Regions from separate parts of the Homo sapiens genome. Here regions 1, 2 and 4 are each linked to region 3. Evidence: promoter capture Hi-C in 16 types of primary human blood cells and fetal thymus (Javierre and others, 2016). All regions are on one chromosome and are shown on one strand. The core of a region is centred on a gene start or on the middle of the fragment in contact, and the rest is flanking DNA. Distances in the headings are between cores, read along the strand shown. Region 1 overlaps LINC01934 (long intergenic non-protein coding RNA 1934). Region 2 overlaps LINC01934 (long intergenic non-protein coding RNA 1934). Region 3 holds the start of ITGA4 (integrin subunit alpha 4). Region 4 overlaps LINC01934 (long intergenic non-protein coding RNA 1934).

The links. The method cuts DNA at HindIII sites, captures the fragments that hold promoters and counts their contacts. A CHiCAGO score of 5 or more calls a contact.
Region 1: a fragment that was not itself captured here is called in contact with the fragment with the promoter of ITGA4 in region 3 in 7 of 17 cell types (naive CD8 T cells, total CD8 T cells, total CD4 T cells and 4 more); the score reaches 11.4 in naive CD8 T cells.
Region 2: a contact is called between a fragment that was not itself captured here and the fragment with the promoter of ITGA4 in region 3, in 10 of 17 cell types (naive CD8 T cells, total CD8 T cells, erythroblasts and 7 more). The highest score is 14.9, in naive CD8 T cells.
Region 4: a fragment that was not itself captured here is called in contact with the fragment with the promoter of ITGA4 in region 3 in 14 of 17 cell types (total CD4 T cells, total CD8 T cells, naive CD8 T cells and 11 more); the score reaches 14.4 in total CD4 T cells.

What each region holds. Positions count from the first base shown.
Region 1 is chr2:181,212,520-181,215,662 of GRCh38, reverse strand. All of the region lies in intron 1 of LINC01934 (long intergenic non-protein coding RNA 1934), which reads right to left. Among named protein-coding and RNA genes, the nearest start is that of LINC01934, 90 kb to the right of the region's middle. The HindIII fragment of the contact is 8,503 bases long and covers 1-3,143 here.
Region 2 is chr2:181,323,071-181,326,365 of GRCh38, reverse strand. The region is part of intron 3 of LINC01934 (long intergenic non-protein coding RNA 1934); the gene reads right to left. Among named protein-coding and RNA genes, the nearest start is that of MIR4437, 19 kb to the right of the region's middle. The HindIII fragment of the contact is 1,719 bases long and covers 766-2,484 here.
Region 3 is chr2:181,456,120-181,459,501 of GRCh38, reverse strand. ITGA4 (integrin subunit alpha 4) reads right to left here and starts at 2,116. Exons shown (of 28, transcript NM_000885.6): 1 at 1,651-2,116; 2 at 1,185-1,306. The coding sequence starts at 1,847. RefSeq lists enhancers at 1,070-1,119, 1,480-1,529, 1,590-1,779, 2,500-2,609 and a silencer at 1,930-2,319. The HindIII fragment of the contact is 9,740 bases long and covers 1-3,382 here.
Region 4 is chr2:181,253,002-181,256,272 of GRCh38, reverse strand. The region is part of intron 2 of LINC01934 (long intergenic non-protein coding RNA 1934); the gene reads right to left. Among named protein-coding and RNA genes, the nearest start is that of MIR4437, 51 kb to the left of the region's middle. The HindIII fragment of the contact is 6,744 bases long and covers 1-3,271 here.

The sequences.
Region 1 (3,143 bases), core at 148-2,647, 240 kb after region 3:
ATATCCGTCCAGTCATACCAAATGGAGGCTACTGAGCATTATTTAATCTGCCATTACTCAGGATTTTTAGGGATCTATTACTATGGTTATCATTTATTATCAGACATCACTTAATAAATATTTATTGTTTCTATTCTGTGCTTCCCAGAATGTATAGTCTAGCAAAGTCAGTGTTGAGAAAGGAGTATATAAAATATAAGAAATTAAACTTTTTATTAAGGGGCTATATTAGTTCATTTTTTGTTGCTTATAACAGAATACCTGAAATTTACAAAGAAAAGGAATTTACATTTTACAGTTATGGAGATTGAGAAGTCCAAAGTCAAGGGGGCCACATCTGGTGAAGAATCTTCTTGCTGGTGAGGACTCTGCAAAGTCCTGAAATGGCACAGGACATCACATGGCCAGGAGGCAAAGTGTGCTAACATTAGTCCATGAATGGATTAATCTATTCATGAGGCCTGAGTCTTCATGGTCCAATTACTTCTTAAAAACTCCCACCTCTCATTACTGCAACATTGGGGATTAAGTTTAAACATGAGTTTTGGAGGGGACAAATATTCAAACTATAGCAGAAGTCCTCTACTGCAAAATGCTTTGCAGATGAAGTCTCTCATATGAGCTCACTTTCTCCAATATCATTTTTTTGTTTGCTCCTTAAAAGTTCAGCAGAAAAAGGATAATTTTTGTACATCTAGTTTGGATAGACTCTGGCTATGATTTTATTTTACTGTTAACCAAAATGCATAAGTGCTCTCTCTCATGTTTATTTTTAATATATGAATTTGGATAAATTAGCCTGGGGTTAGGTAAATTAAATGGGAAAATATCCCTGATAGAGCTAGCAACAAAAACAATATGTGGTTCTTTGATTCTGTGACTTATTTAATGGATCACAATCAAGTACCAGCTAAAGGCTGGTAATTTAAATTATAAGCAGAGGGGTTCAAAGCTATGGCTAATTCATTACTCACACATCTCTAGTTGAAGTAGTAATTTAAAGTCATGTGTGTCCCATTAATTGTAATCTCGTTTCCAAATGACAAGATAAATATCTCAAGGAACATAATATATTATGGTCATAGGTCAACCCAAATGAATGTCTAAAATAGATTAGCACTAAGTGCATGCAATATGTCATGTTTATAAATTTTAAAAAGGATAAATTGTATTAACATTTAGCAGGTTGTTCATTACACATCATCAATGTTTAGCTTTAAATGCATTAATAGTCTATTCAGTTACATTATTCTTTGAAAATACCACACACAGAGATGCTACAAAATCCATGACTGAAAATCTAATAATTGAGAAAAAAAATAGAACAAGATAATTGTGCCCCTTCCCACCAAGATTTCATTGCTTTGTTTTGCATAAATGTGAAATAGATGTATTTTGGCCCTGAAGTGATTCAAACAAGGGCAATGTTAAAATTATCAAAATGAGAAAATTGCCAAAATGCCAGGTCCCTGCCAATCTCTACTTGTATCTCATTTTAATTTAAGCCTCTGCATCAGCTTAGAATGGGTCAGCACTTCATCCAGAGTCTTAGATTAGAAAACAAAATTGTCACCTAAAACCACATAGCAGAGTAAGTGGAGAATCAGGATGCAGGCTGTTAATTGAGAGTTGGTTTTCTGATTTAGGCTGAAATTAAACTGTTGTGATTTCACATGGATGAACCAGTTTTCCTACCTATAAGCCCTAAAGATCACACGTGAAGTATGACTCTCATCACGTCTACATGTCATTATGCACTGCTGTTAAAATATTTTCCTCCTTAGAATGATCTGAGGAGGAAAATATTTTATAGCACCACATTCTAAGGAGGGAAGCAAGAGGAAGACTCAAAATATATAAAGGGAATTCAAAATACTTGTAAATATAACACAGATTCTTGACTCCTGAAGAACCTGTTACTCAAAGTATTTTCTACATAATACAAATGAAGTTCAAGCGTACATGTAAAAACCAATACTTGTCACCCTAATGTCATTACATCTGAAATAAATGAGCACATTCAAACACTGCACAGAAAAAAATATATTTTCTTACCCTAGAATTCCTGCTCTGAAAGAGCCTCATATTTCTTGGGTGAATATTTTGAAAAAACCATTTAGGGTAGAGTAAGGTACAGTGAAGAAGAAACAGCAAAACAACTAAATCTTGCCCTTGGAAATATTTTGGTTAGCTAGCATAAGTGTTCTTTTTGCTTTTTACTTTTTGTTTGGATGTTTGTTTTGTACTGAATTTGAGTGTCTTTAAAGCAAGGCAGGCAGCCTGGAGTTGTTCAACAGTTTCCTCTACATCCTACTTTCTTATACAATGCCCAATCCCACACCAACATTACCTGTAGACAGTAGTTTTTTAAATAATTTTTAAAATAAAATATTATTATTCATATTTTTTTCCAATTTTATTTCAGTTCAAGGGGTACATGTGAATATTTGTTAGATGGGTAGGTTGCATGTCACTGGGGTCTGGTGTACAGACAATCTAATCACCCAGGTACTATGCTCACTAACATAGTATCTGATAGGTAGTTTTTTGACCCTCACCCTTCCCCCACCCTCCTCCCTCAAGTAGGCCCCAGTGTCTATTGTTCCCCTCTTTGTGTCCATGTGTACACCATATTTAGCTCTCACTTATAAGTGAAAAGTGCAGTATTTAGTTTTCTGCTCCTGTGTTAATTTGCTTAGGATAATGGCCTCCAGTTCCATCCATGATGCTACAAAGCACATGATTTCATTCTTTTTTATGGCTGGGAGGTGTTCTATGGTATATATATACCACGTCTTTATTATCCAGTCCACTGTTGACAGATATCTAGGTTAATTCTATATATTTGCTATTGTGAATAATCCTGCAATGAACATACCTATGCATGCCTTTTTGTAGAATGATGTATATTCCTTTGGGTATATACCCAGTAATGGGATTTCTAGATTGAATAGTAATTTTGTTTTAAGTTCTGTGAAAAATCTCCAAACTGGTTTCCATAGTGGTTAAACTAATTAACATCCACACCAGCAGTGTATAAATTTTCCCTTTTCTCTGGAACCTCACCAACATCTTTAATTTTTTGATTTTAAAAATAATAGTTTTTCTGAGTTTTCAAAATAATAGCCATAAGATAGTATCTC
Region 2 (3,295 bases), core at 376-2,875, 130 kb after region 3:
CTAAGATAGTTCTGACTTCTGTATAAATAATCTTTCAATAAAAGGCTTATAATTTCATTGATCTCAGCTGTGTCAGAGGCAAGAAAAAAGCACTTCCCTATAAGAAGTACAGGAAGAGTGCCAAAACTCTCACTTTAGAAATTGAAAAAGCAATGATCTTTTAAATAATTTGGAAGATGTGTTAATATAAATATCTGGTAAGATTTTGTCATGGAATTTGACATGTTATAAAGGACAGGTAAGAGAGTGTAGACCAGCACTGTTTTTTAAAAATATGTTTTGAAAAGAACTATGTATTTAACTATAAAATCATTGATTATATATTATTTCACCAGATCCACAGAGATCAAAATTATAAAGAAAGAAGGCATATAATGGAAATAAAGTGAAATGTGAAGGGCTGAAATCTGAAGGGCTGAAATATGACCCAGTAAGGTTTCCCTTTAGATGTTCAATTGATCATTTCAGATTGGTCATTTCTTGCTCAGTATTGAACAAGATATTCAAAAATTTGACTATTACCACTGAATATAACAAAATCTTATTAAGCACATCTATGTTACTGAAATGCTGTGGGGCACTAATATTAATCAGACATGGTATCTCAGCCCTGAATCAGCTCAAAATTGAATGGGAGAGAAACAAATGTAAAGAAATGAATGGCGTAAAATGTAATGATTGTTACATTTTGGGCATTTACAGGGTACAAGCAGGAGTAATAATGACTGGAAAGACTTCATAAGCAGATGATGCTTGAACTAAGCTTTGGAAGAGGAGTAGAATTTTTTTTTTCACAGGAAACAATGAGGCCAAGAGCATTCCAAGAAGTGGGGAACATACAAATAAAGGCATAGAGAGAGAAAAGAGCCTGGTTATGTTTAAAGAATGTGAGTAACTAAATACATTGGTGAGCAGGGCATCAGCATGAGACCAGCAAAGAGAATGCTGAAGATTTAGGTAGGATTCAGCTCATGGAGAGCTTATATACTATGCTTATGAATTTAAACTTTATGAAGTGAAGACCCTTTTGTTTCCTCAAACAGGTATTTACTAAGGTAAAATGTTTATATTTCTACAGAATTCAAAACTCACAGATCACATACACATGTGCCAATAAGTTATCTATAAAATCTAAGCATCTTTGAAACATGGTTGTGAATATTTTAAAGTAATCCTATAACATTGTTGATGGTGATGATGATGATATCTTGGATTTTTTTGCACTTTTATTCTAAAAAACTAAAAATTCTGTCACATCAACAAAAAATATCTGAAACATAAGAATAAGAATATTATATCTTTTAGAAATTAATCACTTTCTGTGACTCTGTGGAAAGCAAAGTCTAACAAGGTCTCACTTATTAGCTATGTGATCTTGATGAAATTTACTTAACATCCATATGCCTGTTTTTTCACAGGCTGGTTGTATCTATTAAGGAACTTAACTGTGTCTGACACCAGGGAACAAGATTAATAAACCACATATCTAAATGAAAACCACATACCTAAATTAAATATGGCTAAATATAGCAAAGATGGGACCAAATGGAATAAAATATTACTGATCTTCTTAAGAGAATAATGAATTGTGACTGAAAGTAATGAAATATATTTTGGCAAAACCAATTAGGTACTCATTGAAATATCTAGATTAGGAGGGATGAGAGCTGACATGAGGGCAGGCCATGGGGGAGATAAGAACCACCAACCTTGGAGAACTTTTCCTTTTGGTGTGGATCAATAGCTTTCTTAAACTCCCTATCGGAGCTAGGAGAAGAGAAATGCATGACCCCCATCCAACTCAAAGCCAGGAGTGGCATAGCTTCTCTTGACTTGGATTCTCAATATTGTGAAGGGTCCAGCTTATATTAAGAGACTCTTTCTAAAGCCTCTAATATGAAGAAGTGGGGACTAAATTGTAAGGCTATGAAAGAAAATTGACCAACCCCCTACCTGAAGGTATGTTTTCTTTGTTTTAAATAAATACTAATCAGAGGTGGCTGCCACAAAAATAGAGGAAGCCCATTTTGTACCAATTTTCTTTGCTTAGTGTGTGTATCTCTTCTCATCTCCAATCTACATTGACTCCTACATGTTTTTAATTATCATCTATATATGCTGATGTCTCCCAAATTTATATCTGCTGGTCTCACCTCTACTCTGAACTTAACTTGTAAATGCCAATGCCCACTCAGCATCTTCACCTGATGTCTAATAAGCATCTGAAATCAGCAGATTTTAAACTCAACTCTTGATTCCAGTTCCTTCCCCAATGTGTCCTTCTCTCTAAGTTTCCCTCACTAGAGACTGATAACAAAAATCTCATGAGCTGTCTTGGAGTTTTCTCTTTATCTCATACTCTACATCTAACCCATCAACAAATATTGCTTACTTTACCTTGAAAAGGTATCAGAATCTGACCACACCTAATCACTTCCATTTCTACCACTTTCTTTCAAGCCTCTGTTATCTATTACCTAAGCTTCTGTGATAGATTTTCTACTGGCTTCTCTTCTCCACTCTCACCCACACTATTGACGAAGGAACCCTTTCAAACACAAATATCGTTATTTCCCTATTCAAAAGTTTCAAATCGCTTTGCATCTCAAGGTAACATCCGAAGTCCTTGCCATGACCTCCAAGGCTAGACATGATCAGGTGCTGGGCCACTTCTCCCAGCTCCTTTCCAACTACTCTTTTCATCACTCACTCTTGGCTTTCTCACAGTTCTCTTTGTTCGGGGATGAAAGAATAAATTCGTTCAGGGAGAACAATCAAGAATTTGGTTATGGATGCATTGATTGTAAGGCACTTTTGACAGTTACTTGAGATGTCAAGAAGGCAGTTGCAAGTATGAATCTGGAGTCCTGGGGTGGGGAGAGAGGAGGCCTGGGACTAGAGTTGTCTATTTGCAAGTCATTTGTTTATAGTGTCATTTGAAACTCTTGGCATAAATGTCCCAGAGAGAGGAAATAAGGGACCTAGGGTTAACCCTTGAGGAATTACACACATCTAGGTCTGGTGGAGGAGGATGGCATTATAAAAAGGACTGAGAAGCAGCCTCCCAGAGGTAAAAGGAAAATCCAGGGAGTAATGTGGCAGAAGCCCAGGGAGGTGAGAAATGAAGACAGCTAGAATTGACAATTCTTTCTAGAAAAGTAGTAGTGAGAAGGAGATGAAGCAGTTGCAGGACAGGGATGTATAGTCAAGTGAAGAAGTTTCTTTTTATGGATAAAATTAGAACATACTTAAAAAAATGATAAGAACCATACAATTGAAGAGATAGTGATAATAA
Region 3 (3,382 bases), core at 867-3,366:
CTGAATGAAGGGAACCAGCTTCACAGTTTGAAAAAGAGCAAAGACTACTATAAAATACAAAAGAAGTTAAAGATCCAATAACTAATCTCAAAAGTCCATTTATAGCAAAGAAATATAAAGAAGTACCAATTTTATTCACCGTTTACAGATGACCCATCAGCTCAGCAGACAACATATTAAACCATTCACTTAATTTTATTTGCATTGAAGATACATACATGGAAGAAAATGGCTTAGACTTTGGACGCATTCAGACCCTAGTTTGACTTTAGTTCCCACCTATCAGTCACTAGCTAAGTAACTTTTAAAAAGGTATTTGCAACTCTGAGCCACAGTCCTCATACATAAACTAGGAACAATGTCAACCATGACCCAGGGTTGCTTTAAGGGGAAAAAAGTTAAGCAATATATATAGCAGTAACACTTTGGAACAAGATAGGTCTTGTTATTTAATATTCCTTCCTCTTTCCCCACTTGCCTGTGTGCAACAAACTTGTCTTTGGCTTTGAAACATGAAACTTCTCCCCTCTATCAGTACACATTTTTCAACTTGTCACAAATCTGAGACATTGAGAAATGACTGCAAAAAGATGGACCCATATAACATGAGTTTTGGATGACGGTTTTGGGAATGGAAAATTATACTACATTAACGATGAAGATGCCAATTTTCCTTTTCTTTTAGATTGTATATTGTAAGTAAAACTATCACTTTTTTTTTTAGGCCTTTAGGTTAAACGACGGGATATGGGATCAATTCCAATTGCTATTCCTGATATGCTCCTTAGCCTGTTCTTTAAGAGGGTTGATAGGTCAAAGATGGAAATAAAATTCTCAAGTCTTGGCTTAGCTGGATCCTGTCCTTAATACGCTGAGAGAGTCTAAAATGTGCTTTACACACGGAGAGACGGGGAGAGATGAAGAGAAGGTATCATAAGAAATTTCTCTAGCATAGTTGTCAGAGTACTGCAATCATTGCCATAAGGAAAAGGGAGAACGATATTAACAGAAAGGGAATCCCTTTTATATTAAGGAGGCAAGATGAGATGGAGTTGAAACTGAAAACTTTATGCTCTTTAAACCAGAAGTAACAGGCAACGTGAATCTTTCCAGGACTTGCCCTATGGTGGGGTCCACATGGGGGGTCGGGAGGTCACTAACTCCTGGTCCCATACCCAACTCACCCAGCTGGAGCTGTTCGCACGTCTGGCCGGGATTCTTTCCGATCCTGCATCTGTAAATCGCCCCGGGATTGATCACTGAAGCGTTGGCGAGCCAGTTGGCAGTGGGCGCACCCACTAGGAGCCTAAAGCGAGACACGTGCACGTGCGCTCAGACGTGAGCTGTGCTGCCCACTGAGCTCCCTGTCGCCACAGATGTGCAGTCCGCAGCAGGGCAGCTTCCCCACCTCCTCCTCCGCCCACCACCCCCGACTCGAAGCTCCAAGACCTTGCACCATAACGCACCCGGGGCGCTGCCGCCCCAAGATAAGTTAGTTTCCCTGGCAGATTTCCAGCGAGCTGGCTCTCGCAGCGTTTCCCTCCTGCCTCCTTGGGAGGGAGGAAAGTTTGAATCGGGCAGGGAATCCCTAGGGCGCCATTCTCACGCCGCTCTGAGCTGCTGAGGGCGCATCAGTCCAACTCTACTCACCATCGGTTCGCCCCGTGGCTGTGCAGCACGACCGAGTAGCCGAACAGCGTGTTGTGGGGGCCCTGGTAAAGCAGCGCGCTCTCAGTGTCCACGTTGTAGGGGCGGCCGGTCGGGACCCCCAGGCACAGCAACAGCATCACCGTCTCCCGGACGGCGGCCCTTCGGGGGCCGGGTTCGCGCCTCGCTTCCCAAGCCATGCGCTCTCGGTGGGGAACATTCAACACTAAACGGCCACTACCCCAAAGTTGCACGGGATGCGACGGTTGGCCAACGGGGAAGAACGCCCCAAGAGATGAGGCGCAGCGTGTCCGGCGCCAGCGGGCTAAAGGAAGGAGAGAGGGAAGAGGAGGGGAAGTCGGCCCACCGCGGGCGGAGCGTTCGGGCCGGCCTGGGATGCCGCGCACTCGCCCGGCCCCACTCCCGGTTTCTGCCGCCAGCCGGGAGCTTCGGGTGCTCGCGCTGCTTCTCCGGGTACGGGCCGCTGGGTGGGGTCCCGGGCGTGGTGCGGAGGCGCAGGGCCGGGCTCCGTCTCTGCCTACGCGCGGCTGCAGGGGGCGCTGGGGAACCTCGGCTGCGCAGGACTCGCGTCCTGGCCCGGGCCTCCCAGCCCGCAGAGCGCGGGATGGCTCTGGGCTCAGCAAGAGCGGACCTGATGGGGCACGGGCTTCCCCTTTTAACGGTGGTTGGGGCCTAGAAGCGGAGCTGTGTGACCCCAAACTGCGCGCCCCTCGCTGTGACCGCCCAGCCCGGCGTGGCCCAAATGCCAGCCACAAACTCGGGGAGTGGGACTGCGGCGGGGAGCCGTCCAGTTCTTTCGTTGATAGTTAAACACTGTGTCTTGTTTTTCAGGTGTAGGCAACCACTAGATAAATTATCAAGAGCCACAGATTAAAAACAAAAAACCAAACAAAAAGACTCGCCGAAGGCCCCTGGGGAACATTTTAGTGACAAAGACGTTATGGCTATTCTCTTCAAGACCCACATCTCAGCACCCTTCTATACCCACTTCCTTCCTCCCCACACTTCCTCTGCAGCCCGGGCTGCATGCGTGAGCAGGCTAGCAGCAGCCTCTCAGGCTGAACGGCAGGCGGTTTAGGCTGTGGCTGACCCCAACAGAGAGGTTGGGTTAAGGAAGCACTGTGACTTGATTCACTTTAACCGATTCGGATTGCTCCAGCTGGTAATTGATGATCCCCCCTTTTCACGCACCCACTCAGTTGCCACGGGACACACCTGCTTTTAGGGGTGTAAACCCCAGTGTGGGGTCAGGGTCCTAATGAGCCTCTGAAATGTGCCGGAGACCCACAACGCAACACACCTGAACTGGGTAGTGAGTCTCATTCTAATGCAATCCAGGTGTGCCCTGCCTTTTTTTTTTTTTTCCTTCAGCAACCAGAGAGACAGCCATAGGTGATTATTAGACTGATATTTTCAGGAGATGAAAGTCTAGTTTTTTATTGTTGCTATATGTAAAAAGAAAAGAAAAGTCTGCATCAAAGAGTGTGTCTGTGTGCTAAAACCATGCTGGAATAAATAACACATCTGACACTAATGACAGATACACAATTAAAATGCTTATTCATTTATTCAGCACATTCATGGAGCAGGCACTTGACTAGGACCACAGGATTCCACCAAGAGTAAGGCAGGACTGATACAAAGTTTCAAAAAATGTTCGCTCCAATGGTAGATAGAAAAATTTGTACTAACTAGAGAAAGATCCAGGTAAGGA
Region 4 (3,271 bases), core at 536-3,035, 200 kb after region 3:
AACCATGTATCTCATTTCACGACTGATTAAAGCTGTGTCTACAGGCGTGTCTGTTGAGAAATTTCAAAAAACATTTCCAGCTATCAGTGCTATCCTTCTAAATGGCAGTACTATTGGCAGAGATAAGAAAAATTGGTTCTTTGTACCAGAACTGAGATAAAACATTCTAAGTCTGACGAAGATAAACTAAAGGAACCATTTGGCCCCATTCATAAAGGCATGAACCCCTTTACTATTGGATTTTGTAATTTACCATACCATATGGCATTGGCTGTTTTGGAAATGAGAGTTCAGAGTACATGGAACATTGGTGTGATGCATTGTAGCTATGTGTGTTCTTGCCTTATACTCTGCTGAAGCATTCTTTCTCTGTACTAATTTTAAAGAAACATTATGCAATTTGCTGTCAAATTTATACAGAACTGTTGAAGTGTTGTGTCATTTCAGTCAAAATTAGATTGCATAAATTCAGAAACCCTAATCTGAGATCGTTCAATTTCCCAGATTACTAGATTTACATATTAATAACTCCTAGGGTATATTTCTTTTCACCAGCTCTAATTTCAACCAGAATTTATGGGTTGGGCTCTTTTAAAATCCAAATGCAATGGCCAAGTGCTTAAAGCCTGGACAGTTGCCACACTGTCACAGAGCCCCTCAGCAGAAACAAGTCTAGAAAGCTGGGGCTTTTATTTCATTCTGTTTTCTCCCACAGGATGGTTCTTACCACATTAAATAATACATACTCACATACTATATACTACCAGCAATACTCCAATGCCAAATGATGTATAAAAGAGTGTATTTATGGCCTGTTGATTCAAAATGTGTTTGCTTTTCTAGTCACATTCATCTTTATCATGACATATACTTAAACATAAGAAAATCAGAATGTTTCTCCTTGGGTCCAACTTGCCAATTTCTATAATGTCTATGAATTGACAACTTTTTAAAAGTAAAATTTGGTGTGTGGGTGTATGTGTGTTCTGAGCAATGAATTTTGGGTGTTCTGCCTCCTCTCAAACAACAGGATCTCCTGCAGAAGGAAAGAGTTAGTGCAGAAGATTTTGATTCACTGAAAGCATGCTTATTTCCTTGGTATCTGGGAAAGCAAGCATTGTTTGGTGGTATATTCCTCAATTCAATAAAGAGAGTTTTTATTCCCATGTACATATGTAACGGTCAATTAAAGAACTATTCCAAAGGCTGTAGTAGGTTGGGTTTTAATTCCAAACTCTCTTGCCTTTATTTAACAGTAAAACAAATGGGAGTATGTTTCCCATTGAATATCATTTTTCAAAGATGATCTCTGCAATGCATAGTTTACTTAGACAATGTTTAATGTAAAATCAGAGAACAAAGTGTCCAACCAGAATACGGCTGAGCTGAGGGACAGAGCCAGAGGCTAAGGGGACTGAACTGAAAATATTATTCTTCCCAAATTTTTCTACATTAAATTATCTGCATAATTTTAAAATGACTACTCTGTGCAAGGCACAATGAAAGCTGCGACAAGGAATGTCCAGATGTAATATCAGTTCCTACATCTTTATCATAGCAAGGAAGGCTCAGACAGGTTCACAATCATAATACAAGGTAGTAAGTGATTGCAGTAGGATAGGTACAAAGAAGCACTGTAAGTTCAGAGATCAGAGGGAGAATCACATTTATTTAAGAAGATAAGAAAAGGCCTTGTGAAATATAAACATGTAAGATGGACTAACTTTTTAATAGGTTGAGAAAGGGGGTGATTTTCTAGGTAGATGGGAAACAAGAACAACACGTGACCAGGGGACATAGGCATGGGACAATTATGTGGACCATCATATAGCCTAGGTGCACTGGGACCTTAGCATACAAAGAGTATACCAAGGGGAGACACTATTAGGACATTACTTGGTAACAATATTCACAATAGTGAATATCGAAGGAGCTTGAAAGCTCTAAGGATTTTTTTTTTCTTTTTTTACTGTTTCTGTTAATCTTGAGGAAGTTTTCAGTGGGGAGCTGATTCCCATTTATTTTGCTGTTAAACAAAGACAGAAGATTTAGAACTAAACCATAGTTTAAAGCTATAGCCTTCGGAAGGGCTTATTAATGTTAAATGCCTACATGAAGAGATAGATTTGGGGAGTGTATCGGGGTAAATTAGGATTTATCATAGTAAAACAGTATATAATCTGGGTTCCAAATTCATAATAACAATCATAATAATAATATAATCACTATATGTTGAGAACTACTCACTATGTGACAAGTGCTTTACATATATTATTTCATTTCATTCTTAAAACTGCCCTATGAGGTGGATACAAAATATCATTTTATAGATGAAGTAACCAACACTCCAAATCCAAGTAAAATAGCTAAGAAGCCAGGTGAAATGGACCAGACTCCATATCCTTGGCCACTACTCTCTTGCCTCTCGTTTGGTCATGAGATAATTCTTCATCCCCCACAGTTGAGAGCCAGTCAAGCATATTTGTCCAAATAGAGCCTCAGAAGGGCCTCACCAAATCAAATTCTTCCTAATTGTAGAGAAGTCTGCGCTAATTGTCCTCTCTGTCTCCACATCCGGGACTACTTGAGAGGGTTGACTGCACAACATGATGGGTATAGCACGGGCTCTGAGGACAAGCTGCAAGGTGCAAATGCTGACCCAACCACATACCACATGTGTTCTTTATTTCTATGTAAGCACAGTTACTTGCAGAGAGACCTATAGTAGGCCAAAGGCAACACATCTAAAACTATGAGTCTTTTTCATTCTTCTAGCCAGGAGATCATAAATCATTTGCAGAATACAAACTAAAGTCCAGTCCTAATTAGAGAAGAGCAGAAACACGATTATCTTTAAAATCCCACTCTTGCATCATGGAAAACTTTCATCTGTTCCATTTTAAATGACAGAACTGTTCTTTTTGGTGGATGCTCCGCAGTTTTGATAACTAGAGAAGAAGTACACGGTGATGTCAATAAGGTAATGCAATGGAGGGGGAAGGGTGGACTGAAGGCTAGTCCAGCAGCTGAAAACTCATGTGCCCCTATTTTAGATGGCTGTTACATTCTCTGCTTTCAATAGCATTTGAAAGTCACAATGTTGTTCTGATTGCAGTTACAGAGGAGAAATAAATATCAACTTTTTAATTTGTATTCATTTTCCAAAAGTTTCTCAGGAAGTTGCCCTCAAAACCTCAAGTTACTCTGTGTTAGGTACCGTGTAACAGGCTGACTATATGCCCTTTTTGCTCAGACAGATCTGCTCCAGCCC